Linked DNA regions of Homo sapiens: regions 1, 2, 3, 4, 5 and 7 are each linked to region 6. Evidence: promoter capture Hi-C in 16 types of primary human blood cells and fetal thymus (Javierre and others, 2016). All regions are on one chromosome and are shown on one strand. Each heading gives the region's core, a stretch centred on a gene start or on the middle of the fragment in contact. The rest is flanking DNA. Distances are from core to core; before and after follow the strand shown. Region 1 has its middle 6.4 kb from the start of ARMC5. Region 2 overlaps ITGAM (integrin subunit alpha M). Region 3 holds the start of ITGAX (integrin subunit alpha X). Region 4 overlaps ITGAM (integrin subunit alpha M). Region 5 overlaps ITGAX (integrin subunit alpha X). Region 6 holds the start of STX1B (syntaxin 1B). Region 7 overlaps ITGAD (integrin subunit alpha D).

The links. The method cuts DNA at HindIII sites, captures the fragments that hold promoters and counts their contacts. A CHiCAGO score of 5 or more calls a contact.
Region 1: a fragment that was not itself captured here is called in contact with the fragment with the promoter of STX1B in region 6 in 15 of 17 cell types (naive CD4 T cells, neutrophils, monocytes and 12 more); the score reaches 10.3 in naive CD4 T cells.
Region 2: a contact is called between a fragment that was not itself captured here and the fragment with the promoter of STX1B in region 6, in 3 of 17 cell types (neutrophils, naive B cells and total B cells). The highest score is 6.8, in neutrophils.
Region 3: a contact is called between the fragment with the promoter of ITGAX here and the fragment with the promoter of STX1B in region 6, in 1 of 17 cell types (monocytes). The highest score is 8.8, in monocytes.
Region 4: a contact is called between a fragment that was not itself captured here and the fragment with the promoter of STX1B in region 6, in 10 of 17 cell types (naive B cells, naive CD8 T cells, total CD4 T cells and 7 more). The highest score is 8.6, in naive B cells.
Region 5: a contact is called between a fragment that was not itself captured here and the fragment with the promoter of STX1B in region 6, in 2 of 17 cell types (monocytes and total B cells). The highest score is 6.4, in monocytes.
Region 7: a fragment that was not itself captured here is called in contact with the fragment with the promoter of STX1B in region 6 in 3 of 17 cell types (monocytes, M0 macrophages and neutrophils); the score reaches 7.2 in monocytes.

The regions. Positions count from the first base shown.
Region 1 is chr16:31,451,245-31,455,044 of GRCh38, reverse strand. No RefSeq gene overlaps it. Among named protein-coding and RNA genes, the nearest start is that of ARMC5, 6.4 kb to the left of the region's middle. RefSeq lists enhancers at 818-1,589, 1,590-2,362, 2,943-3,237. The HindIII fragment of the contact is 3,667 bases long and covers 1-3,579 here.
Region 2 is chr16:31,293,739-31,297,719 of GRCh38, reverse strand. It overlaps ITGAM (integrin subunit alpha M), which reads right to left. Exons shown (of 30, transcript NM_000632.4): 13 at 66-206. Among named protein-coding and RNA genes, the nearest start is that of ITGAM, 36 kb to the right of the region's middle. The HindIII fragment of the contact is 613 bases long and covers 2,293-2,905 here.
Region 3 is chr16:31,353,917-31,357,366 of GRCh38, reverse strand. It overlaps ITGAX (integrin subunit alpha X), which reads right to left and starts at 2,191. Exons shown (of 30, transcript NM_000887.5): 1 at 2,076-2,191; 2 at 1,369-1,474; 3 at 639-742; 4 at 266-336; 5 at 3-114. The coding sequence starts at 2,112. RefSeq lists enhancers at 2,420-2,609, 2,800-2,929. The HindIII fragment of the contact is 18,983 bases long and covers 1-3,450 here.
Region 4 is chr16:31,330,799-31,334,383 of GRCh38, reverse strand. It overlaps ITGAM (integrin subunit alpha M), which reads right to left. Exons shown (of 30, transcript NM_000632.4): 29 at 3,109-3,219; 30 at 1,507-2,748. The coding sequence ends at 2,677. Among named protein-coding and RNA genes, the nearest start is that of ITGAX, 23 kb to the left of the region's middle. RefSeq lists a silencer at 2,827-2,906. The HindIII fragment of the contact is 184 bases long and covers 1,756-1,939 here.
Region 5 is chr16:31,382,536-31,386,487 of GRCh38, reverse strand. ITGAX (integrin subunit alpha X) reads right to left here. Exons shown (of 30, transcript NM_000887.5): 30 at 3,489-3,952. Among named protein-coding and RNA genes, the nearest start is that of ITGAD, 8.8 kb to the left of the region's middle. RefSeq lists enhancers at 3,380-3,880, 3,881-3,952. The HindIII fragment of the contact is 1,492 bases long and covers 1,328-2,819 here.
Region 6 is chr16:31,008,055-31,011,957 of GRCh38, reverse strand. It overlaps STX1B (syntaxin 1B), which reads left to right and starts at 1,320. Exons shown (of 10, transcript NM_052874.5): 1 at 1,320-1,591. The coding sequence starts at 1,562. RefSeq lists an enhancer at 783-1,284. The HindIII fragment of the contact is 27,284 bases long and covers 1-3,903 here.
Region 7 is chr16:31,400,467-31,404,222 of GRCh38, reverse strand. ITGAD (integrin subunit alpha D) reads right to left here. Exons shown (of 30, transcript NM_005353.3): 6 at 1,978-2,108; 7 at 578-723. Among named protein-coding and RNA genes, the nearest start is that of ITGAD, 9.0 kb to the right of the region's middle. The HindIII fragment of the contact is 7,259 bases long and covers 1-3,756 here.

The sequences.
Region 1 (3,800 bases), core at 497-2,996, 440 kb before region 6:
GTTTTCAAACAAGCCAAGATTTTTACTTTTTGAGTTCCATTTTGTTGCCCAGGCTGGTCTCTGAAACTTCCAGGCTCAAGCAATCCCCCTGCCTCAGCCTCCCAAAATGCTGGAATTACAGGTGTGAGCTACCATGCCCATTTATTTATTTATTTATTTATTTATTTATTTTTGAGACAGAATCTCACTCTGTCATCCAGGCTGGAGTGCAGTGGTGCAATTGTGGCTCACTGTAGCCTCAACCTCCTGGGCTCAAGTGATCCTCCCACCTTAACCTCCCAAGGAGCTGGGACTACAGGCATACACCACCACACCTGGCTAATTTTTTGATTTTTAAAAAATGTTTTGTAGAGACGGGGTCTCACTGTGTTGCCCAGGCTGGTCTTGAACTCCTGAGTTCAAGTGTTCCTCTGGTCTCAGCCTCCCAAAATGCTGGGATTACAGATGTGAGCCACCTAACCTGGTCTTTTTATTTTTTTAAAGAGCCAACATTTAAATAAGGAGATTTCACATCACAGTCGATTTCTGGGGCTTGGTTTGTTGTTGTTTTTTTTGTTTTTTTTTTTTTTTAATTGAGACAGGATCTTGCCAGGTTGCAGACTGGTCTTGAACTCCTAGGCTCAAATGATCCCCTCCTGGCCGGGCACGGTGGCTCACGCCTGTAATCCCAGCACTTTGGGAGGCCTAGGTGGGCGGATCACGAGGTCAGGAGATCGAGACCTTCCTGGCTAACAAGGTGAAATCCTGTCTCTACTAAAAATACAAAAAATTAGCTGGAAATGGTGGCAGGCGCCTATAGTTCCAGCTACTCAAGAGGCTGAGGCAAGAGAATGGCATGAACCCAGGAGGCAGAGCTTGCAGTGGGCGGAGATCCTGTCACTGCAATCCAGCCTGGGTGACAGAGCAAGACTCCGTTTCAAAAAAAAAAAGAAAAGATCCCCTGCCCCGGCCCTTCCCTCCCCCACCCACCTCGGCTTCCGAAAGTGGTAGGATTACAGGCGTCAGTCACCACACCCGGCCTGCTTTATTATTTATATCAGAAGATGCTGCAACATTGGATTTTTATGGCAGCAGTTCGTTGAGTAGTGGCTGTCCTGGACATAGGAACAGGGACACTCCCTCTTGCATCCCTGACTCAGCACGTTTCATATGTGTTACTTGCCTGTCCCCTGCAGAAAAGTACTTGAGGTTACAGTCTCCATCCCACCCCACTGTGGGTGAGAAGGACCTTTCCATGCAGTGAAGGCACTTTTCCCCTTTCCTTCACCCCTTCCTGTTCCCTTCTCTGCCGTTTTCCTTCTTCTCCCCCAGAACTCCTCTGTGAAATACCTGGCCTCCTTCCCTGAGCCTCCCTGTCTCCCTGCCACCCCATCTCCACTCCGTGCTATGACATCACCCCGTAATTTGAAGCTCCTTTCCCTATCTGAAGGGAGGCAGAGACAGAGTGCACAGGCTCAACTAGGCAAGGCAGACCCTTGCATGCCTGGGTCAGAGGTCAGGGTCTCTGGCACACATTCCTCCCAGAGCAACTGTAGGAAGCAAGCCAGTACAGAGGTACTCTAAGCGCTAGACAGGACGGGGTGGGAGTCGGTAACATCGTCTCCTCTGGGCTGGCCCTGCTTCTGCTTAGCTCTGGGCATAAGACTGACTCCAGTACAGTCACAGTTATGTCTCTGAGCTCACCCAGTCCTGGGTTCCAGGTTCCCAGCTCTGAGCCTGGCGAGACACACACAGGCTGGTGCTGTGGGATGTCTTGGTACGGTGGCTCACGCCTGTATTCCCAGCGCTTTGGGAGGCCGAGGTGGGCAGATCACCTGAGGTCAGGAGTTCGAGACCAGGCTGCCCAACGTGGTGAAACCCTGTCTCTACCAAAAATATAAAAATTAGCCAGGCATGGTGGCACGTGCCTGTAATCCCAGCTACTTGGGAGGTTGAGGCAGGAAAATTGCTTGAACCCAGGAGGTGGAGGTTTCAGTGAGCCAAGATCGTGCCACTGCACCCCAGTTTGGATGAAAGAGTGAGACTCCGTTTCAAAAAAAAAACAAAAAAAACAAAACCAAAAAATAAAAAAACACATCAGCTTGACATTTTGGAGGCATTCCCAGACTCAGGGTTAGTCAGCAGATTAGCATTTAAAAGAAAGTCTTGTCCCTACAGATTCCCTGACCTCAGCTACCCATGAAGGGTGGGAAGAGGAGTCCTTAGCAAGAAGTCCAGGAAGTTGACAACCTCCTCAGACCTGATAGGACACTCCTCTCTCCACCCTGCCTCCTGACTGATTTAATCTCAGGGGTGTGAGGACCTCTGAGATAGGCCCCAGGAGTCTCACCCGCACCACTTATGTCTCAGGGCTAACCAGAGACTCCCTGAAACAGATCCTAGAGGATTCCCAAGTGATAGGATAAATAGAGAGGTACTGAGACTTCCTGGCGTGGGTGACCTCTCCCAGGCTGGCCAACCTCCCCCATTCAGAAATTTGCTGAGCACCAGGAGTGAATGAAGTAAAGGAAGCCCCTAGGAGTTCAAGAAGCAGAGATTTCCAGGTCCATGCACCAAAGCTCATGTGCTCAATTCTCAGGAAAGGCCTCACTCAGTTAAAAAATTTTGTATCATGAAAGGGTAAATGAATTAATTAGTGAATCTGGTTTCTAAGCCAATGGCTTACTAGAAATATTATAGTAAATCAGAAAAAAAAAAAAAGGCGGTGGCTCACACCTATAATCCCAGCACTTTGAGAGGCTGAGGTGAGAGGATGCTTTGAGCCCAGGAGTTCGAGACTAGCCTGGGCAACATAGCAAACCCCATCTCTAGAAAAAATTAAAAAACCAGCCAGGTGTGGTGATGTTCACTGTAGTCCCAGCTATTCAGGAGGCTGAGGCAGGAGGACCGCTTGAGCCCAGGAATTTGAGACTGCAGTGAGCTAGGATTGTGCCACTGCACCCCAGCCTGGGCAACAGAGTGAGACCCTGTCTCTAAAAAAATAATTTTTTTTAAAGATAATTCTTCAAAGGAGATCCGCTCTTCCTTTCCTACACCCATTCCCTTTCCTCCCTTTCCTGAACAATGCTGTCTTACAGCCTCTAGGGGCAGGCAGAGCCAAAGAGGCCTCTGCCGGGTGTGGGGAGTGAGACGCAGCAGGCCAGAGCATGTATCAGAGCTCCAGCAGGTGGGGGAGGGTGTCCACACGAGAAGGTGGCCTGGCTTGGCATGGCAGAACCTGATAGGATTAGGAAGGCATCAGCCACGGGAAGGAGATGGCGAGAGAGATAAGAAACTGCTTCCACCAGCTATTGGTCAAATAAGTACACATTTGAAAGATAACAGCCAGGTTTCTCAGTGTCAGAGAAAACCGAGACACAGCTCGGGAAAGGGAGAAAATGTGGGTGGGGAGACCCTTGTGGTGTCGAATTGGAACTGGAGGTATAGGAGTAGACTCAGGATTTTCAGAAAGTGTTTAGATAGACATAGAAATTAGTATGGGTGTGTATATGTGTATGTGCACGCAGATGTGTGTAAATGTCCATATATTCCCTAGCTCTGGAAAGCCCTGGAGCAGTGCCATCCCAATAACAAAAAGCTTTTTATGGTTTTTTGAGATAGGGTCTCTCCCTCACCCAGGCTGGGGTGCAGTGGTGCGACCACAGCCCACTGCAGCCTCGACTTCCTGGGCTCAGGTGATCCTCCTGTGTCAGCCTCCCAAGTAGCTGGGACTACAGGCATATGCCACCACACCCAGCTAATTTTTAATTTTTTTTTTTTGTAGGGACGGGTCTTGCTACGTTGCCCAGGATGGTCCTGAA
Region 2 (3,981 bases), core at 1,350-3,849, 280 kb before region 6:
CCCAACCCAGGCGACCCCTCCACCCACACCGGGCCCCACCCAGCCCAGGTCCCATTGCCACTCACCCCCCTGGGCAAGGGGCACACGGACACCTGGCCCCCTCGGGTCTGCTCGTAGTAATGGGGGGCCCCGATGAGGACCAGGTCGGTGCTGCCGTTGCTGTCCACGTCCACGGAGCAGAGGGAGGCCCCGAAGTAGGCGCCGATCTGAAAGAGACAGGACCGTAATCACACACCTCTTCCCACCTAAAGCAGATGTGGAGGTTTTCTCTCTCTGAAGAAAAGTTATGCCTGCTGGGGGAATCCCTCTGGAGCAGATGTGATCTTCTATATGGTTCATGATAAATTATCACTTGAATGTGCTGCCAGCTAAAGGAACCTATATAATAAGCCTGGCAGAATGGTTTCTGCCTGTAATCCCAGCTCCTCGGGGGGCTGAAGTGGGAGGATCCCTTGAGCCAAGGAGTTTAAGGCTGCAGTGAGCTTTGTCACCACTGCACTCCAGCTTGGGCAACAGAGCAAGATCCCAATCTCTAAGTGTATATATATATTTTTTAATAATTTAAAAGATAAAAAATAAGCCTATAGTAGAGTCAATGGGCAGTGAGTGAGGATTTACTCCAGGTGGTATTCCTGGGAGATTATTAAGGCAGCAAAGAAGAATTTGGGTTGGAAAATACATAGAAAATTCTAGAAGAGAAGACAGAATACCACCCTTTCAATATATTGGGAATCTTTAGGGAGGTAAAAAGTCAAAGTTGGCACTCTGACTAATAAGGCTAATAACTGGCTTAGATTAAAAATAACTATTTGTTATTTGAATATTTGTTGTGATATTAAGAAATATCTTCAAGGTCAATATGTAGAATTCATCCATAAAATTCACCTATTTAATCATACATTCATTCATTCATTTATTCATTCATTCAACAAACAAGTGTTTCTTATTGCTAAGCACACAGCTGGGTAATAGAGATACAGTGCCTTCCAGGGCCCTCAGTGCAGCCAGGTGGAGGAGAGGAGAGTAATCAATGGATTAACAGGGAGATGTGTATAGCAATTTCAAACTGGGACAAGTTCTAGAAAGGGAATGTGCAGGGGACATCATGCCACGGCTCTGCAACGTGATTTCTGCCTCATACACCATTGAGGGAAGACTCATTGATAACTGAATACTTTATCCTAAAGTCAACAGAATTTGATTGTTTTTTAGGTCAGATTTATTGGGGAAGAGTTTACATACAATAAAATTCAGCCTTTTAGTACATAGTTTTATGAGTTTTGACAAACATATAAAGTCATATAACCGGCCAGATGCAGTGGCTCATGCCTGTAATCCCAGCATTTTGGGAGGCCAGGGCGTGTGGATCACCTGAGGTCAGGAGTTCGAGACCAACCTGGAAATCATGGTGAAACCCCATCTCTACTAAAAATACAAAAAAAAAAAAATTAGCAGGGCATGGTGGCGGGCGCCTATAGTCCCAGCTACTCAAGAGGCTGAGGCAGGAGAATGGCGTGAACCTGGGAGGTGGAGCTTGCAGTGAGCCGAGATAACGCCACTGCACTCCAGCCTGGGCAACACAGAGAGACTCTGTTAAAAAAAAAAAAAAAAAAGATAAAAAGATAATAACCATGATCAAGTGTGATTTATCCCTGGGATGCGAGATGCAAGGATGATTCCACATATGCAAATCAATTAATGTGGCATATCACATTAACAGAATGAAGGACTAAAACCACATGATCATCTCAATATACGCAAAAAAAAGCATTTGACAAAATTCAACATTCTTTTATAATAAAAACTCTCAATAAATTCGCTACAGAAGGAATGTACCTCAATATGATAAAGGCCATATACGACAAGCCCACAACAAACATCATACTCAATGGTGAAAAATTGAAAGCTTTACCACTAAAATGAGGAAAAAGGCAAGAATGCTCACTCTCACTACTTCTATGTAACATAGTACTGGAAGTCCTGGTCACAGCAATTAGGCAAGAAAAATAAATGAAAGAGACCCAAATCAGATATAAAAAAGGAAATTTGTCTCTGTTTACACTTAAAATGATATATATATAAAAACATATATATATAAATATATTTTTAAAAAACCCTAAAAACTCCACCAAAAAAGAACTACTAGAACTAATGAATAAATTCAGTAAAGTTACAGGTTACAAAATCAATGTGAAAAATCAATAGTGCTTCTATACACTAACAATGAACTATCTGAAAAAGAAATCAAGAAACAATCTCATTTACAATAGCATCAAAAAAAATACCTAAGCTTAAATTTAACCAGAGAGGTGAAAAACATGTACACTAAAACTATAAAACATTGATTAAGGAAGTTAAACAAGACAAAAATAAATGGAAAGATATCCTATGTTCATGGACTGGAGTATTAATGCAATCTTCTGATTCAGTACAATCCTTATCAAAATCCCAATGGCATTTTTTTACAAAAATAGAAAAAAAACTAAAATTTATGTAGAACCACAGAAGACCCTAAATAGCCAAAGCAATCCTCAAGAAAAAAAATACTGGAGGCATCATAATTCCTGATCTCAAAACATACTGTGTCAAGAAAGCTCTAGTAAGCATAACAGCAAGGTGGTGGCATAAAAACAGACACATCAACCAATGGAACAGAACAGGGAGGCTAGAAATAAAACTATGCATTTATGGTCAATTGATCTTCAATAAAGGTGCCAAGAATATGCAAAGGAGAAAGGACATTCTCTTCAACAAATGGTGTGGGGAGAACTGGATATTCATATTCAAAAGGATTAAATTAGACCTTTATCCCAAACCATATACAAAATCAACTCAAAATGGATTAAAGACTTAAACACAAGACCTGAAACTGTAAAACTACTAGAAGAAAACAAAGGGAAAAGCTTCTTGACAATCAAGCTTCTGAGAAATGATTTTTTGGATATGACCCCAAAAGCACAGGCAACAAAAGCAAACCAGACAAATGGGGTGGCATCAAACTAAAAAGTGTCAGCTTAACAAAAAAAGAAAATTTCAGGCCAATATTCTTGATGAACACTAATGCAAAAATCCTCAACACACTACCTGCAAACCAAATCCAGCAGCACATCAAAAATCTAATCCACCATGATCAGGTAGGCTTCATTCCCGGGGTGCAAAGTTGGTTCAACATATGCAAATCAATAAATATGATTCATCACATAAACAGAACTAAAGACAAAAACCACATGATTATCTCAATAGATGAAGAGAAGGCTTTAATAAAAGTCAACACCCCTTTATGTTAAAAATTCTCAATAAACTAGGTATTGAAGGAACATACCTCAAAATAATAAGAGCCATCTACAACAAACCCACAGCCAACATCATACTTGATGGGCAAAAGCATTCCCCTTGAAAGCCAGCACAAAACAAGGATGCCTTTGCTCACTAGTCCTATTCAACATATTATTGGAAGTTCTAGCCAGAGCAATCAGGCAAAAGAAAGAAAAAAGGGCATACAAATAGGAAGAAAGGAAGTAAAAAAGTCAAACTATCCCTGTTTGCAGACAACATGATTCTATATTTAGAAAACCCCATAGTCTTGGCCTAGGAGCTCCTTCAGCTGATAAATAACTTCAACAAAGTTTCAGGATACGAAATCAATGTACAAAAATCACTAGCACTCCTATACACCAACAAGAGCTGGGAGCCAAATCAGGAAGGCAATCCTATTCACGATTGCCACAAAAAGAATAAAATAACTAGGAATACAGCTAACCAGAGAGTTGAAAGATCTGTACAGTGAGAATTGTAAAACACTGTTCAAAGAAATCAGAGATGACACCAAAAAAATGGTAAAACATCTCATGCTCATGGATAGGAAGAATCAATATCATTAAAATGGACACACTTCCCAAAGCAATTTATAGATTCAGTGCTATTACTATTAAGCTACCAATGACATTCTTCACAGAACTAGGAAAAACTATTTTAAAATTC
Region 3 (3,450 bases), core at 942-3,441, 340 kb before region 6:
ACCCTGCCTGGACACCGGGAGCCTCTGGGTGAGCTGGGTGGGGCCCAGGAGGAAGCAGAGTCCGGTGAGGTACATGTTCCTCCCGCACTCGTGGTGCACGGTGGGGCCGCAGGCCTGGGGACACAGCGGGCTGCTGGGGGGCTGCCCCTGCTTCCTCCCACCCTCACATTCCGGAACCTCCACCCTACAGGAGACTCCCAGCCCCCCGCGGCCCCGGCTCCTCCCTCCCTCCCTCAGAAGCCTCCTGTGACCCAGGGCCACTCACCAGCAGCTGGGAAGGGCTGGTGGTAGACGCCAGGGACAGGCCCAGGGACATGTTCACGGCCTCCGGGGGCACTGTGGGGACAGATATGTGCATGGTCACTCTCGGGGGTACAGAGAAGGCTGTGGAAGAGCTGGGCAGGGGTCACCTCCACCTGGGAGACAAGGAGGTCTGACGGTGAAGGAAGCTGTCGGGTCTTGACAGAGCTGCGGGAGTGCGATGGGCGGGGAGGCCTTAAGGGGCCAGGAAGCATATCTGAGGGTGAGGGTCTCAGACACAGTGGAAGCTGAAAGTGACACTCCGGTGAGTCCACGGGCCCCTGGAGCAGGGAAGCCTGGGAGCCCGGCCCTGGGTCCCGGGAGGGGCGGTGACTCACCCTGCAGGCCGATGGGCTCACAGGCACCAGTGCTGTAGCCACACTGGTAGAGGCCACCCGTTTGGTTGGCAGCTGTTATCTTTTGGGGGGCTCCAACCACCACCCTGCGAGGAGACAAAGAACACTTTAGGTAAGAGTGTGGACGCTGCAGCACAGCTGCCACTCCGGCAAGTTTGCGTTCCCTCCCTGAGCCTCAGCTTCCTCATCTGCAAGATGGATTTTAATAATTTAAAGTCCATGTGGAAGGGATTTCTGTCTGTTGGATTCTCTGGCGTATGGAGACAAGAAATATTTGTTGAGTCTGGGTGTGGTGGCTCACACCTGGAATCCCAGCACTTTGGGAGGCTGAGGCGGGAGGATTGCTTGAGCCCAGGAGTTTGAGACCAACCCAGGCAACATAGTGAGACCCTGTCTCTATATATTTTTAAATGTATAGAAAAAAAGAAAGAAAAAACAAATAAGTGTTTGTTGCACGACTGATTCCTACTCACAGGCTGTCGTGTGGACTAAATCAGCATCCACCTGTGATGAGCCTGGCACTGCACTTACTGCTCTGTAAATGTTAGCTGTGAGACCGTGCCTGCCTTCAAGGCAAATCTTCATTAGCCAGGGCAGTCGCTACACCAGACAGAGAGGAGAGTTTGCAAATAACAGGGCAGGGCCGGGGGCATGGGGCCCTGAGCAGGGAGAGGATGGATGGAGCCAAAGGCCAGCACCACCTGGGCCTCACCAGGAGTTGGCATACTGGACCACGCTGTCTCCAAACCCAGCGCTGTCCACACGGAAGGCTGTCAGCTCCTCTGTGTCCAAGTTGAAACCTAGAGAAGTTGCTAAGGCTGGGAAAGAGGTGGGAAGAGAGCTTTGGAGAAGGGTCTTCCTTCTGCCTGGCTGCCCTCCACCCCCGGCCCCAGCGTCCCAATCTCCCCTCCGAGCCTGATGCCCGGGGTGCCTGGGTCTTCTGGACACCCAACTCATCCCCTTCTCTCCTTCCCAGGGTCCAGGGATGCCCCTTGCCCACCATCCACTATCGAGTTGCAGTTCTCCATTTCTGCAGAGCAGTACCCAGGCTCTAAAAAGGATCTTTCCCCAACGTGCACCTCGGGCGCTATGAGAGTGAGTCCAGGAAAACTTGCGGACCAAAGCATCCTGTCCACAGAGCACAAGTTGGCGCATTCTGCCTATTTTAAAAATCTCTGCAGTACAGAGACAACTGGCCTCTCTTCCAGCATCTCTGGAACTCTCCCAAAATTGGTTCATCAATATCCTCTCCCTCCACAAACTCCAAATCTCAGACCCTATGTGCCTGCCTCCCCCTCAGGCTTGACTGAGTCTCTCTTCCTACCCAGATCCTAACCCCCCAGCCTGAGCCCCCAGTTCAGGGCCCTGGCTCCCTTGGGCCTGGGTCCCCAGCCCTACTTCATTGGGGTCCAGGCTCACCTGTGAACAGGAGGAGTGCTGCCCTGGTCCTGGTCATGACTAGAAGGTCAGATGTGGAGCTCTGAGCTCCTGGGCCGTTGCAGGAAGAGCTGGACCAAGGTACTGAGGAAGCAAGTGGGCAGAGAGGTGGCCAGGGGAAGGAAGAAGATTGTCAGCATGAGTCAGAGGGGGCGGGCAGAGTACGCAACTGATCCGAGGACAGGCTCGGCCTCCCACACGCCCCCACCCCCCAACCGGAGTCACTCTCATCAGATGACTTGGCTTGATGCCCTTTGCTTAGATGGATGCAAATCCCTGCCCTGCCCCTCCCAGGCTCACCCTTGACTGCCAGAAGGCACCCCTTGACCTTGAAATTTCAGCCAGACTGGAGGGGGTTTGGGCAGATGCCAACCCCTCAGGACCCTAAAGGAAACCCTGGTGGGAGCCCTCCACTCTGACCTGGAAAGTCTGGGCCAAGGAGTGGGGCATCCGGGTCCCTAGGAGGAGCACAGAGCGAGTATTTGTTCATTCATTCATTCACTCATTTATTCATCATTTATTCAAGAAGCCTAATTTGAGCCTGGAGATGCAAGCCCTCTGCTAGGTGGGGAAGAAAATATAAACCACAAAGCACCAGCCCTGGGGTCAGTGGAGAGGCAGATGTATAAACAGCAAGTTCATTGCTGTGAGGGGGAAGCACAGAGACCACAGGGTGCCTCACCCGGGTTGTGAAGGTGTGGCTTTCTGAGAAGGCTTCCTGAAAGAGGTGGTGCTTGAGCTGAGCATTGAAAGCAACCAAAGTTGGGAGATGACAGAGCAGCCAGACATGGATGAGGCAGGGGACAGGAGGGTCTGTGTGTGAAATCAGCAATGGGAACCAGACAGTCAGGGTGGGAAGTTGTAAGAGACAAGGTCAGGGCCACTGGGAGGAAAGCAAGGGGAAGCAGGCCTCAGGCCGTGGAAGCCCCCCTAATGTACATCAATTTTTTTTTTTAATTTCAGAAACAGGGTCTTGCTCTGCCACCCAGGCTGGAGTGCAGTGGGTGCATAGTTCACTGCTGCTTCGAACTCCTGGGCCCAAGGGATCCTCCTGCCTCAGCCTCCTGAGTAGCCAGGACTATAGGATTGCACCACTGCACCTGAATATATATATATATTTATATATATATATTTTTTAATTTTAGTAGAGACAGAGTTTCCCCATGTTGGCCAGGCTGGTCTCAAACTCCTGATCTCAATCAATCCTCCTGCCTCAGCCTCCTAAATTGCTGGGATCACAGGTGTGAGCCACCACACCTGGTGAAGACACATTGATTTTGTCCTGAGAGTGGAGGACAGCATTGAAGGGAATTCATGGGGACTGAGATCTTCACATTTTCATTTTAGAAAGTGGGTT
Region 4 (3,585 bases), core at 598-3,097, 320 kb before region 6:
AATTTCATATGCTTTAACCCAATATCATAACAGTTAAATAACAGCCACCCTCTCCCCACACTCCCTCATGCCTGTTCTGGGGCCATTCCTCTGAGGCTGTCAGGACAGTAAAAGAGAAAAGCTTTAGACCTAGGCAGAGCTGGGATTAACTCCTAGCTCCATTCCTTCCCAGCTGTATGACCTCAGGCAACTGGTATGATCTATCTAAGCCTAGGTTTCCTCATAAGTGAAATTCATGTAAATACCAAGGACTGGTGTGAGGATTAGAGAGGATGTATGTTCAGGCCAGGCTAGTGTTTACTGTGTTTGCAAAGTATGAGGGACAGGCACTGGGCATCCTCCCTCTGAGGAAGCAGCCACCAAAATGTCACCTGCACACACCTTGGCAGCAAGTGCTCCTGGTGCCCTGACCTGAACCAAAGGCACCGTGTCAGGGGCTGTGTTCACCTGTCAAACATCCAGCCAGCAGCACTGGTATCACTTTCTCTGGCCACTAGAGCCCACTCTCCTCACACTCAGGGCAGGCCAGAAGTGGTAGGAAATTAACACACTCTCCCCACCAAGAGCAGCCCTCATCCAATAGCTAAGTGGAATCGGTGTCTATGCGCTCCAGCCTTCTCCCCTGGGTGGGGTGATACTGAGGTGCGTGTTCTGCACTGCCTCCGAGAACTGCCCAGTGGGGTGAAGCTCCAGGAACTCACAGCAGCTTCTCTGTGGGTGATACACCTGTTATTGGCAGCCTTCCCTTCCTCGGTATTTCCTGGAGCCATCTCTTTATTTTATTTTATTTTATTTATTTTTTTTTTTTTAAGATGGAGTCCTGCTCTGTCGCCCAGGCTGGAGTGCAGTGATGCAATCATATCTCACTGCAACCTCTACCTCCCAGGTTAAAGCAATTCTCCTTCCTCAGCCTCCCAAGTAGCTGAGATTACAGTTGCCTGCCACCATGCATGGCTAATTTTTTTGTATTTTTAGTAGAGACGGGGTTTCACCAAGTTCGACAGGCTGGTCTCAAACTCCTGAGATCAGGTGATCCACCAGCCTCGGCCTCCCAAAGTTCTGGGATTACAGAGGCGTGAGCCACTGTGCCCGACCTTTATTTTATTATTTTGTTTATTTTTGAGACAGGATCTCACTCTGTCACCCAGGCTGGAGTGCAGTGGTGCGATCATGGCTCACTGCAGTCTAGACCTTCTGGGCTCAAGTAATCCTCCTGCATCAGCCTCCGGAGTAGCTGTGACTACAGGCATGTAACACCAGGCCTGGCTAAATTTTTTTAATTTTTCGTGGACACAGGTTCTCACTATGTTGCCCAGGCTAGTCTCGAACTCCTGAGCTCAAGCAATCTTCACACCTTCACCTCCCAAAATGCTGGGATTTCAGGTGTGAGCCACCATGCCTGGCCTGCCACCTCTTAAATACGCTTGTTTCACCCAAATTCTTGGGTTTGCTTCTGGGAGAACCCAAACTTCCAGGAACATATCCTATAAATTATCCTTACATATATGCAAAAATGACATATATTTGATTTATTAACTCAGCATTGATGCAATAACAAGAGAATGAAAATAGTATATCAAAAGAAGACTGGTTAAATACATTATGGTACACTCACACAATGGAATACTATGCAGCGGTATAAAAGAATGAAAAAGTAATTTATGTCTTAATATGAACCGATGTCTGAGAAATATTGGTGAAAAAAAGCAAGATACAGACCAATATAAAGTATGCTACCATTTGTGTAAAAAAGCTTGTGTGTGTGTATGTGTGGTGTGTGTGCACACGTGCATACACTTGCACATCGCCTGGAATCTGTCTGAAGGAAACCTCAAAACACAATCTTGACTACCTTTAAGGAGGTGACTTGAATATCTGGAAAGGGAGACTTTTCACTGTACACTTGAATGCCTTGTGATTTTTGTACCATAGACAAGCTTATCCATCCAAAAAATTAAAGTCACATTGAAATAATAAATGAATCCAGAAAGGAAGCTTCATCATTCCTCAGTGGGCATCTTTATTGGGCATCAGCGCTGGTGTGGAGGAGGTTCCTGGTTCCACCCACGGCTTCTCATGGAGTCTCCATCCAAGCTGCGCAGGCTCCAGCAGGCCGCAGGCTCGCAGGCGACGGGAAGTCCCACTTCTTTCAGTGGAGAGAAGCTGCTGTGTTTCCCTCTGTCTTCACCCACAGGATTGACCGTCCCCTCTCCCGGAGGAAAACCCAGCAGCGGCTTCACCCACGCACAAGGGAGCCCAGGCAGTTCCCTTCTGCCGGAGAGGCTACGCTGCCGTCACCTACCCACACGCCAGAGACATCTGAGTCACACACGTGAGCCACACGCCCCTGAGCACACACATGCACACACTCGCACACATGCACACACTTGCACACACATGGACACACGCACACACACTTGGACACACTCACATACTTGCACACACTCACACATGGGCGTGCAAGTGCACATGCACGCACACGCACACATGTGCACACACTTGCACACAGACACTTGCACACACGCACATACACACTTGCACACACACAAATGGAAGCCCAAGCCCGTCCTGTCGGGGATACTTCGCTGTCCGACGTGTCCAGCAGCCTGGGGGCTACGTGTGGTCTGGGCAGAGTCCTGCTGGCCACCGAGAGGCAGCTCTGTCGGGAAGGAGCCGCTACTGGGGTTCGGCCCCCGGGGGACCCCCTTCACTCATCATGTCCTTGTATTGCCGCTTGAAGAAGCCGAGCTGCGGGGCAGAGGAGGGCAGTGAGAGCGACAGCAGCCAGGGAGCGTGCGGCTCCGCAGACCAGGGGGAGGGGGCGGGAGGGCCGGCAGAGACAGAAGGGACCCAGGAGGGCGGGGCGGGAGGGGAGTGACATCCGCGTCGGGGCCTGGAGAAAAACAGAAACTACAAGGAGGGCGACTCGTTCTCAGCGCGCCCCGCGCATGAACCCGGCCACCCTCCCTAAGAGACTGAGGCGCAGAGAGGCTCCCAGACTCGCCCCAGTCACACAGCTGGCAGCCCCGCCGGGGAAACCGAGGCACGGAGCTGCAGCGCGAGGCCCGAGAGGATGAAGGGAGGGGGTGGGGGAGCAGCGGGGAGCACCTTGTACAGCGCGGCGGTGATGAGGGCCAGGAGCAGCAGTCCCCCGACAGAGCTGCCCACGATGAGCGGCAGGGGGTTGGGGACCTCGAACGGCTCCACTTTGGTCTCCGTCTGGGGGAGGAAGGAGGGGCGTCAGGGGAGACGACTCTGGATTTCTGGGGGTTCCCCATTCACACCGTGTGCACCCCTGAATCAAGTGGGGAACCCCTCCTCATGTCCCCCAGAACCCCAGCCCTCAGTCCTCCTCCCCCACCTCTTCTCCCTCCTCTCCCTCCTCCGTTTCTCTGTCCTCTATCTCTCTCTATCGCTTTCTGCCTCTCTCTGTCTCTCTATCTCCATGGCTCACTGTCTCTGTCTCTGTCGCGCTCTGTATCTCTCTCTTTATCTCTATCTCTCTGTCTATCTCCATCTCTCACTGTCTCTGTCTCTATCTCTATCTCTCTGACTCTCTATCTCTCTCTCCTTTGTCTGTCTCTG
Region 5 (3,952 bases), core at 824-3,323, 370 kb before region 6:
CACAAAGATGAAAGCTGATTCAGACTTTGTATGGCAGTGACTTATTCCAAGTATGAGGTGACATGCTTGCTCTCCCACACAAGCGTTAGTCACTGCTATTCTGCTGTATACCTCTGACATACACAATGTCCAAGCTGTTCCTTCACAAAGGAATCTTGCTCACAGCATAGTCTTCAAGCATAGTATTTGCCAGACACTGTAGGTAGCCTATCCAACAGCCACCAGCGCTGCCACCTTCCTGGCTGGTGGAGCTACCCTCCTTTTTTTTTCTCTTTTTTTTTTTTTTTTTGTTGAGACAGAGTTCTACTCTGTCCCCCAGGCTGGAGTGCAGTGGCATGACCTCAGCTCACTGTAACTTCCACCTCTCAGGTTCAAGCGATTCTCCTGCCTCAGCCTCCCAAGTAGCTGGGATTACAGGCACCTGCCACCATGCCCAGCTAATTTTTGTATTTTCGGTAGAGACAGAGTTTTGCCATGTTGGTCAGGCTGGTCTCAATCTCCTGACCTCAGGTGACCTACCCACCTCTGCCTCCCAAAGTGCTGAGATTATAGGCATGAGTCACTGCACCTGGCTGGAGCTACCTCTTTTTATTAAGCCTGTGAAAAGCACATGCTCACCTTCTCAGCACTGCATGCAACCAAGGGGATGGAATTTGACCCAATCCTAGTCAGTGGGAAAGAACTAAACCGCCCCCGCAAGGACGATCAATTGGAAGATCAGAAAGAATCTGTCAATGCTGAGACTCTGCATTAAACACTAACCTGCACCTGAACCTCTTGCAGAGTAAAGGTCTTCTGTCTGCTCTTACATGCTTTTGTTTTTTTCTATTATTTGCAGCCAAAAGCAACCTTTCAATACAGGTATGAACTCTACTGCCATTTCTACAAGCTTCTTGGAAATTATGTGACTTGTACCTACTTTTGCTACTTTAAAAAGCACCTTTGATTTATGTCACTGTGGTTTTGCTGTCTCCTCTGTATTCGGTGACAACACTAATCACTTTTGAATAGGAAAGCTACATGTAGCAGTTGTTCTAAGAAATCTCTATTGCTTTACCTGAGGCAGGCAGATCATGAGGTCAGGGGTTCGAGACCAGCCTGACCAACATGGTGAAACCCCCGTCTATACTAAAAATACAAAAATTAGCTGGGCGTGGTGGTGCGCGCCTGTAATCCCAGCTACTCAAGAGGCTGAGGCAGGAGAATCACTTGAACCCAGGAGGCAAAGGTTGCAGTGAGCCAAGATGATGCCACTGCACTCCAGCCTGGGCGACAGAGCAAGACTCCATCTCAATAAATAAATAAATAAGAAAATAACACAAAAGCTTTCAGAGGTTCATGCGACTGTTTGATAAAGTTTCAGAATGGGCAGCACACTAGGGACAAATACATGTCAGAACCAATACAACCTACCTGTCAGGGAGTATAATACCTTCTAGATATTTTCGGGTTTTGGCTCACAATCACTTATTCCGGTATGCATGTCTATACTATACGTGCACTGGGCTCAATATTTAAAAGTCAATATTGACTTTGATGACATTATTGTAAATTGTAGCAATTAGATTAGTTTTTAATCACAACTTCCATGCTTTTGAGCCATTGATCCATTTTGTGATTCGGGGATCTAATGCAACACAATAGCCAACCCTGAAAATGCAAATGTAATAAATGTACACAATAACACACAAAGGAAGAATATCAGAAAATAACACCTTGTCGGCCAAGTACAGTGGCTCATACCTCTAATCCCAGCACTTTCGGAGGCCGAGGAGGGCGGATCATGAGGTCAGGAGTTCGAGACCAGCCTAGTCAACATGGTGAAACCCCATCTATACTAAAAATACAAAAATTAGCTGGAAATGGTGGTGCCTGCCTGTAATCCCAGCTACTCCAGAGGCTGAGGCAGGAGAATCGCTTGAACTTGAACCTGGGAGGCGGAGGTTGCAGTGAGCCAAGATCATGCCACTGCACTCCAGCCTGGGTGACAGAGCGAGACTCTGTCTCAAAAATAAATAAATAAAAATGGGCATGGTGGTACGCCCCTGTACTCCCAGCTACTTGGGAGGCTGAGGCAGAGGCATCACTTGAACCCAGGAGACAGAGGTTGCGTTGAGCCGAGATCGTGCCACTACACTCCAGCCCGGGAGACAAAGTGAGACTATCTCAAAAAATAATAATAATAAAATAAAATAGAAAATAACAACTTGTTGCCTGAATTTAGACAAGAACCCACTGTAGTCCCTGGAGTCCGTGTGCCACACAATTATTAAGGCCACAACACTATTTCTGTGCAAATCACTAGTTTCAAATGTTTGAGATGTATGGGTTTCTTGCTCTTTTTCTCTAAAACCTTCCACTTAGAAGACCATCATTGACCACCAGTGGTTCGTGGAACACATTTTGAGAAACACCACTCTAGGGTCAATTTTTTTTTTTTTTTCTGAGACATGATCTTTCTCTGTTGCCCAGGCTGGAGTGTGGTGGTCCAAATCACAGCTCACTGTATCCTCAACCTCCCAGGCTCAAGTGATCCTCCTGCTTCAGCCTACCAAGTAGCTGGGACTACAAGCACATGCCACCATGCCTGGGTAATTTTTAAATTTTTTTGTAGACACAAGGTTTCAATATATTACCCAGGGTGGTCTCAAATTTCTGAGCACAAACAATCCTCCTGCCTCGGCCTCCCAAAGTGCTGGGATTACAGGCATGAGCCACTGTGCCCAGCCATTAGGGCTGAATTCTTACAAAGCCTTATCTTCTGATTCCCTTTCTGAGGAAACTGCATAATAATTAGTCATCCTGGGGACTCAAAAGCTTCAAAATCCACAGGGATTTTGGAGCCTCTGCTGATGTATAGGACAGACATTTTTGGCTGGAGGTAAAGGGCCACTTTCCATCTTCCCTTCAAATCACTCAACTGCCTCCCTTCTGTTTTTCTAATTGAAACATCCACACGGCCCGGGTCCCTTGCTGGTGATAGCTGCAGTGGCGTCACTCCGAGGTCAGGAATGGCTTGTCCTGTGAGGCCCCCAGCTCAGTGCCAAGCACCATGATGAACTTTATGCCAGGATGGTGGCATAATAGCAAGAATGACCTTATTGTGGGCAGCAGCTCTCAATGTGGGACCCCAACATGTTCTTCAATCACTCACTATATGCAGACAGTGTGCCCTTCAACACATCCTAGGACTTGTAGGAAACGCTTGTGAGTATTGGTCACTCCAGAGACCTTTCCAGGTGGAAAAGTAGCCACTGGAGGTTGTCCCTTCTCTATTCTATGCCCCCTCCACCCGACAGCTCCACCAGCTTACCATCGGCACCAGCCCTGAGAGTGGAGTGAGCAGATTAAGAGGTCAGGTTACTTCCAAGAGAGGGATATTCACAACCCTACTCTGGTTAACTTCTTGTCCTGGCCCCAGGCCTCAGTGCTGGCCAGGGTCCACCGTGGTAAAGGGACCCCATGGGTGTCATCCTTCAGGACTCATATCCACAGAAGGCTTTTTTATTTTTAGACCTTTGACATATTTCCCAAGAGCGGTAGATGCATCTTTTTGTGCATGTTTTAATTTATTAACACAAACATTTAAAGTACGCTTTTTAAAAAAATAATCATGTCTTGGCATTTTTTCAGGTACTATATTCATAGCCTCAAAAAATAGAAGTGGTTGGGTCTCTTCTGCCCCTGGGGCTGGGTGAGCTGCAGCCGCACCGGGGCCATGTCCCTCCCTAGAGGGCGCTCCTCCCTTCCAGCCAGCAATGTTGCCCAACGCGGGAGGCCAGCTGTGCAGAACCCAGCATGCAGGCATCTCACTCCCAATTCAGCCTGGGAAATCGGAACTGAGAGCCCCACGATGAAGCCCTGAGCTGATGCTGACATGACACTAATTCACTGGAAACGAGGGTGATGGGGGCACAGAGCCTCTCATGCTGTGCGCCCTGAAGCCCACCCT
Region 6 (3,903 bases), core at 71-2,570:
GGTGGCGCGTGCCTGTAGTCCCAGCTACTCAGGAGGCTGAGGTGGGAGGATCACTTGAGCCTGGGACGTTGAGGCTGCAGTGAGCCGAGATTGCACCACTGTACTCTAGCCTGGGCAACAGAATGAGACCCTAACTCAAAAAAAAAAAAAAAGAGAGAATGGACGGAGCCCAGGGAACCCTGAGGTTGAAGGGCTGTGGGAAAAAAGGTAAGGACCTGGAAAGAGGCTGGGAGACAACACTCACAGATCAGGTTGGGGGGTAGGTGGGCGGAGCACCACAGACAGGAGGGTTTCAGGAAGAGGGGCTCATCAGGGTCACATGCTGCTGAGAGGTCAGGGATGGTAAGGCCCGACTGGCGGTGTGGGATGAGGGTTTATCAGACACAGATTTGGCACCAAGGAGGTCACTGGGTACCTGGCAAGAGAATGCCGGGTGCGGTGGCCCAGGCATGGAATCCCAGCACTTTGGGAGGCTGAGGCAGGAGGATCGATTGAGAGTCAAGACCTGTCCCATTGGGGACCGGCGCCCCATTGCAGGGGGTGGGAGGAGCTGGTGTGGTGTAAGGATGGGGAGAGGAGAGGTGGGCATCAGAACAGGAGGTCACTCAGACCCTCAGGGGCACCTGATTTCCCCTCCCACTAAGGACAAATTTCATGTTCAACAGTCAGAGCCATCTGCAGATGGGCCAAGAGGTCCTGGGAGGTAGTGAGCACCCTGTCCCTGGAGGCAGACAAGCAGAGCTCCGAGACCCACCGCGGCGGGAGAGGCCCAGGCTGTGCAACACAAGCCCCGTGTCCTTCTCAGCAAGCACCTGGCTGGTTCCCTGCATCGTAAAAACCACACAGAGGGTCGGTCTTTCTATTTATAGTGTCCAAAGAGCCTCCTGCAAGAACACACATGGGCTCGCACCCAGAGGTGGTCGGCGCGCAGCCTCACGCAGACACCAGACACAAAACACAGCCGCGATCTGTGTCTCCTGGAAAGGGATCCACATCCTGGCTCCCAGGTTATTCCCTGAATTCATTCCGTCACCCCCTCTTTCCGCCGGGCCACCCCACCCCCCGGGCCACCCTAGCATCTCCGCTTGGCTCTCCGCATCTCTCCCTGCTCCTCGGGCTCTGCCCACCCCCACCCGCCTCCAGGCCTCTCCCGCCCCCTCCTCGGGTGTCCCCCAAGCCCGTGACTACAACCCCCAGGCGCCCCCGGCCCGGGTGCTGCGCATGCCCCCTGCTCCTTGCGCGCTCCCGCTCCCCCCGCCCTCGCTTCCTCCTCACCTCCCTCCGCCCCCCTCCCCCGCGCTCGGCTCCCGCATCCCTCCATCCTACCCTGTGCCGCAGCCGCATCGCCACCGCAGCCCGGCAGAGCCGAGCCCGGCCCAGGCCCCTGCCCCTGCCCGGCCCTCGGCCAGTCGCCCCCGGCCCCGCCCCCGCCCGCAGGCCCCCCGCAGCGGCCGCGGCGCCCCCCGGCGCCCCCAGACCCCGGCCTCCGGCACAGAGGCGGGAGACCCGGAGCAGCAGCAGAGGCAGGAGGACTAGGAGGAGGAGGAGGAGCCGTCGCAGGATGAAGGATCGGACTCAAGAGCTGCGGAGTGTGAGCTTGGGGGTGGGGAGAATGGGGGGGCGGGACCCCAATATTGGGGGAGCGCGTGGGGATGGAGTGGGGGAGGTGCTGGGACGTGGGGGCGAAGGATGAGATCGGAGGTTGGTAGCCGGAGCACCCCAGTATCTTCAGGCGCCTGATGTCTCTCCAGTGAACCTGCATTTTGGGGACAGTGCCTGGAAGGGGTTGGAGGCCATGAAGACACAAGGGGGCAGGAGAGGTCTCAGGGGCCTCGAACACCCCGCATTCCCAGGAGGGCCCCGGGGTCTGGTCTGGGGATGGGAGAGAGTGGATATCAGGAGAAACCGGAGGAGACTGTCATCCCCTGGGCAGGTTTGCCAAAGAGAAGCATGGGGGCGGTGACTGGGCCAGGCTGAGAGTCTAGCAGGACCCAGATTCAGGGGATGCTACGGGGAAGGACACAGGTTGGGACTGAGATGCCAGCACCTGGCAGTGAATGAAGTGTGTGTGTGTGTGCACACGCGTGTGTCACTCCCTATAGGGAGGGGGCATCTCTCCGAGACAGGGAGGGAAGAGGTGGCCTCCGGAGAGAGCCAGAGGGCCAGGGCCTGAGACAGGGTGACCCAGAGGTGGGAGATGGGGATGCAGAGGAGAGGGCCATGGAACACGGGCCGTGCTCTGCTTGGGGGAACTGGGGCACCCCGGGCAGTCAAGGGCTGATGCAGGCCCCAGGTCTGCAGGCCTGAAGAGGCCCGGCTCCAAGAGTCTGGCCAGGCAGTCCCTGGTTTTGGGGGGACAGGGGAAGGACTGCAGTGGAGGCTGCTACCTGGAGGAACTGGGGAGTGGGGTTCGATGAGAATGGTTTCAGGGGCAGGGAGGACGCTGGGGTATTTGGAGAAATGACCTGGGGCCCGAGGAGGCAGCACTGACAGTCCGCACTGTGCTGGGCTGGTGGTGTTATGTTAATAAGGGTACCGGCCCCGGCTGAGCTGCCCAATGCACTGAGCCTTTACAGGGAACTGGTGGGTTGTTACCCCAGGGGTTATTACCCCACTTGACAGATGAGGAAACTGAGATTCAGGCGTGGGAAGGGACTTGTCCAAGGTCACCAAGCAAGTGGGTGGGGGGCAGACTGCAATCTGGGTTTCCTGTCTGCTAGGTTGACACAGGTCTCTGCTTTTCTGGCCTTTGAAACAGAAGTTTCAGCACTGGGGGTGAAGAGCTGTCCCCTGGATTTGGGGGTGGGGACCCAGGTTACAGACAGACGAGAAGAAGGTGTTTGGAGGCAAGTGACCGCTGTCTCTGGGGACAGACAGGTTGCCAAATGGGAAGCAAGGAGGAGCTGGTGGCTGAGGGAGGGAATTTTAAAGGTTTCTTTATTACATTTTTACTGAATATACACTCAGGCATGAGGAAAGTGACAGTAATAATAAACATTGTTTGAAGTGTTTTATGCATATTCACTCATTTTGATCCTCACAGCAATCCTATGAGACTGGTTATCTCATTTCATAGATATATAAATATCTTTTTAGATATATAGATATATGTTATCTCATTTTATAGATAAGGACACTAAGCTCAGAGAGGTTAAGTAATTAGACCAAAGTCACACAGCTGGTAAAGGCAGGATTCAAACCCAGGCAGGCCGGCTTCAGCATCGGTGCTGTCAATTCCCCTCCTCAGTTTGCAGAGCAGGCTTTCATCCGTGATGTCATTAGAGCCCCACTGACCTCCTGGCAAGTGGACGGGGAGGCTCTTTCATTTTAGAGTTGGGGAAACTGAGGCCCAGAGTGGTTGAATAACTTTCCAAAGGTCACACAGCTAGCAGGTGAGGGATCCGGACTTGAACCCAGTTCCCCTGCTACCAGGACTATTCCATGACTCCAAAACCCAGGGAAATGGAAGTGGGTTGGGATCAGGTGGTGTGGAATTGGGGTACAATTCGAGAAAGAGGGAGGGAAAAGGCTAAGCGGGGTAAGGGGGAGGCAGGGGAGGGGGAGGCCTCATGAATGAGTCAGGGGCCCCTGCTCAGAGGTAAGGAATCCTGTTGGCTGTGGCTGCCGGAGGTGGTGTGGAAGGGTGAAGGGGCTGAGTGGATGTGGTGGCTTTGGTATTAGTCACAGCTCAGGGAAACTGGAGATTCAAGAGGGGGCGGGCGGGGTGGGAAAAGCTGACAGATTCAGGTAGCGTAAGGGTCTCCCTGCTACAGTTGAAAGCAAGGAGCCTGGGATGCAGGAGACACCTGGCAGGGTGTGGGGGACCTGGAAACGGGGTCTCTGAGACACTGGGAGGGATGAGGCAGGGGCGGTGGTGGGAGGGGACATTAGCCCAGGGGACTG
Region 7 (3,756 bases), core at 159-2,658, 390 kb before region 6:
AGGGGTGAGGGATGCGGGAGAGGAGGTGAGTGGGGAGAAAGGCACCAGGACGACCTTGGGTGACAATTCCTGAGTCCCTGACTACTCCATTCTCTGATAAAACCTCAGGCATTTATCCGACACCTCCTACGTGCCCCGGGCTGAGCACCCCACACACATGATCTCAATCCTAAGCTGTGAGCTTATCTTCATCTGAGAGTTACTGAGACTTAGAGCCCATCACCCCAGGGTTACACCCAGAGTAGCTCACGGGGAGCCAGGATGGGAGCCTGATGTGTCTGAGCCAAAGCCCGGGCCTCTGGCTGCTGTGGGGTGGGGAGGGGTCCTGGGGTCCAGGCTCTGCAGAACCAGGCAAAGGGGAGGCATAGCTGCAGAGGAGCCTAGTCCTATATCAGGGAGACTGGCAGCGAGGCAACCAGGAGCACCCCGGGGGGAGGTTCTCCCTGCAGCCCCGACATGCCCCTTGGTAGCCCCTTTCCCTGGAGCCTCCCTCAGCCTCTGAGAAGAGCTGTGCTGACCCAGGGTTAGGAAGTGGGGGTGGCAGTCACATCGCCAGGCTGGGGTCGGGGTTGCTTACACCACTGTCAGGATGCCCGTGGCCGTGAACGTCAGGCCTTTCAGTTGGACGATGGGATCCACCAGGCTCTGCTGGCTCGGGCTGGTCCGGAATTGGGTGAAGGTGAAGTGGATCTTCAGGAGGTTTGAGTACTGCATCAGTGCAAACTGCAAAGGCCAGTGGGGAGGGCCCAGGGCTCAGTGCCTGTTACTATTGTTTTTATTTTAATTTTTTGTAGAGACAGGGTCTCTCAAACTCCTGGCCTCAAGTGATCCTCCTGCCTCAGCCTCCAAGTAGCTGGAACTACAGGCACACGTCACATGCCTGGCTTTGTTTTTTGTTTTGTTTTGTTTTTGGTAGAGACAAGGTCTCACTATGTTGCCCAGGCTGGTCTCGAACTCTTGGCCTCAAGCAATACTCCCACCTCAGCCTCCCAAAGTGCTGGGATTACAGGTGTGAGCCACCACACCAAGCCATATTGTTTTCAGTTTTAATAAACTTTATTTTGGAATTATTTTGGATTTACAAACCATTTCCCATGTGTTTTGAAGCCCTACAAATAATATACTGAAACCCAGAGAAGAAAATTCATTGGCCCAAAAATACAAAATATAAACTGGAAAATCTAAACCAAATGATATTTCCTTCACAGTTTATTAAAAATAACTTTGCCAACCACAATATTTGCTACCCTTAGCTTTTTAAAAATTTTATCACACATTAAATCAATTTGTGTATTTCCTCCCTTCTCAAGAATTTGTGGCTGGGCGTAGTGACTCATGCCTGTAATCCCAGCACTTTGAGAGGCCAAGGTGGGAGGGTTGTTTGAGCCAGGAGTTGGAGACCAGGTTGGGCAATATAACAAGACCCCATCTCTACAATAAAAATTTTTAAAAATTAGCCAGGCATGGTGGCATGCACCTGTAGTCCCATCTACTCAGGAGGCTGAGGAAAGAGGATCACTTGAGCCTGGGAGATCAAGTCTGCAGTGAGCTATGATTGCACCCCCACACTGCAGCCTGGATGACAGAACAAGACCCTGTTTAAAAAACAAAACAGTGGGGTTTTTTTGCACATACATAGGCACTAGTTATGGGAAAATAAAATAATAAAAAGAAATCATTAGTTACATAGAAAATATGTCAGTCAAATTCCATAGCAAAATTATTTTTTAAACACTTTCAATGTTTTTAAACAGCAGAAACATTGTATTTCCTGTAGCTTTTGGATACATTATTAAATGCCAAGAGGGCCTCCTAGGTCAGGGCTCAAGTTGGGCCTGTGCTGGGACCATAGCTTCATTCTCCACCCCAGCCCCATCACACACGGCTCACTGGCCTGCCCCCACCCCTCCCGGGATGCCTCCCCGAGGCCAGCCTCCCCCGTCCCCCAAACCCCAGCCCCAGGTGCCCAGTCTTCACCAGGGTGTCAGTGCCCTCAAACTGGCCCATGACAGCTTGGACAAAGCCCTTCATCTGGTTAAAGTCATTTTGGTCAATGCTTCCAGAGCCGTCAATCAGGAAGACGATGTCCATCTCTTGATGTGGACACTCTGTGGGGGAATGGGGAGGAATCGGAGATGCACTGCGGGGGCCCAACCCCCTCCTGCAGCTCCTGCTCAACAGAGCCCGGGGGCTGTTCTTGGCATCCCCACCTAGTTTCCGACCCCTCCTTGGAGGAGGCCCCAGTCTGCCACCCCAGCCCCCTGCTCCCTTCCTCCCACATGGCCTGGAAAGAGAGGGATGACAACACAGGACCCAGGTGGGCTCCTCATCCATTTAATCAACAAATATTCATTAAACACAGATGCTAGGGGTGCCACAAGCATCAAGGGCGAATGTTTAGCAAAGTGGTTCAGGGCGCGTGTTCTGGAGCCAGTGTGCCTGGGCTAAACCCCAGCTCAGCCACGTGCTAATTGGTGAATTCAGGCACATTACTTAACTTCTCTGGACTTCAGTGTCCCTATCTGTAAAATGAAGGTAATATCAGTGGCTACCACGTGGGATCACTGCAAGGATAAAGCAACACGCACATGGGTGCTGGAGACAAGTCCTGGCCCTCTGCCAGGGTCAGCCGCTGGCACCATTCTCACCACGTGCCAGGCACCTTCGAGGCCTGTAGGATATGCCTGTAGGGATGCTGTGGGGGTGGGGCAGGGATCCACCCCAGACCCCACCCTACCCCCAGTCGGTCAGAGGTCCTTATTTCCAGCTACGTGGAGTTGGCTCTGAGCTGAGTCCCTTCCCAGGAATCACGCTAGGCAGAGGGGAACTGTTGCCCACTGGGACACCTCCTGCCCCTGGAGGAAACCTTTACCGATGACTGGTTCAGCGTCTGAAGGGCCAGCTGCACTCTGAGCCCCCCAGGCATTGGCTGAGGCCTCTGGTTTTTTCATTTTTTGTTTTTTTGAGGCAGAGTCTCACTGTCACCCAGGCTGGAGTGTGGTGGTGTGATCACAGGTCAGTGCAGCCTCGACCTCCCCAGGCTCAGGCAATTCTCCCACCTCAGTCTCCTGAGTAGCTGGGACTACAGGTGTGCACCACCTTGCCTGGCTAATTTTTGTATCTTTTTGTAGAGACGGAGTTTCGCCATGTTGCCCAGGCTGGTCTCAACCTCCTGGGCTCTAACGATCCACTCACCTCGGCCTCCCAAAGCACTGGGATGACAGGCAAGCACCCCAGTGCTGACCTTGGGCCTCTGTTATGATTGCATTGCATCCACCCTTCATGCTCCCATGGGTGCGGTGCCCAAGAATATTCCCAGTTGGGAGTGGTGGCTCACGCCTGTAATCCTAGCACTTTGGGACGCTGAGGTGGGCGGATTACTTGAGGTCAGGAGTTCAAAACCAGCCTGGCCAACATGGTGAAACCCCATCTCTACTAAAAATACAAAAAAATTAGCCCGGCATGGTGGCGGTGCCTGTAATCCTAGCTATTTGGGGGGCTGAGGCAGGAGAATCACTTGAACCTGGGAGGTGGAGGCTGCAGTGAGCCAAGATTGTGCCACTGCACTCCAGCCTGGGCGACAGAGTGAGACTCCGTCTCAAAAAAAAAGAACATTCCCAAGTGACCTCAGAGTTTGTGGAGTTCACTCTGCAATCGTGAGGGCACATCATATGCACATGAACAAATAAGACTTTTCATGCTGTCCCCAGGCTCATGGGGGGTGTGTGGCCTGTGTTCAGGGCCCAGTTGGTACCT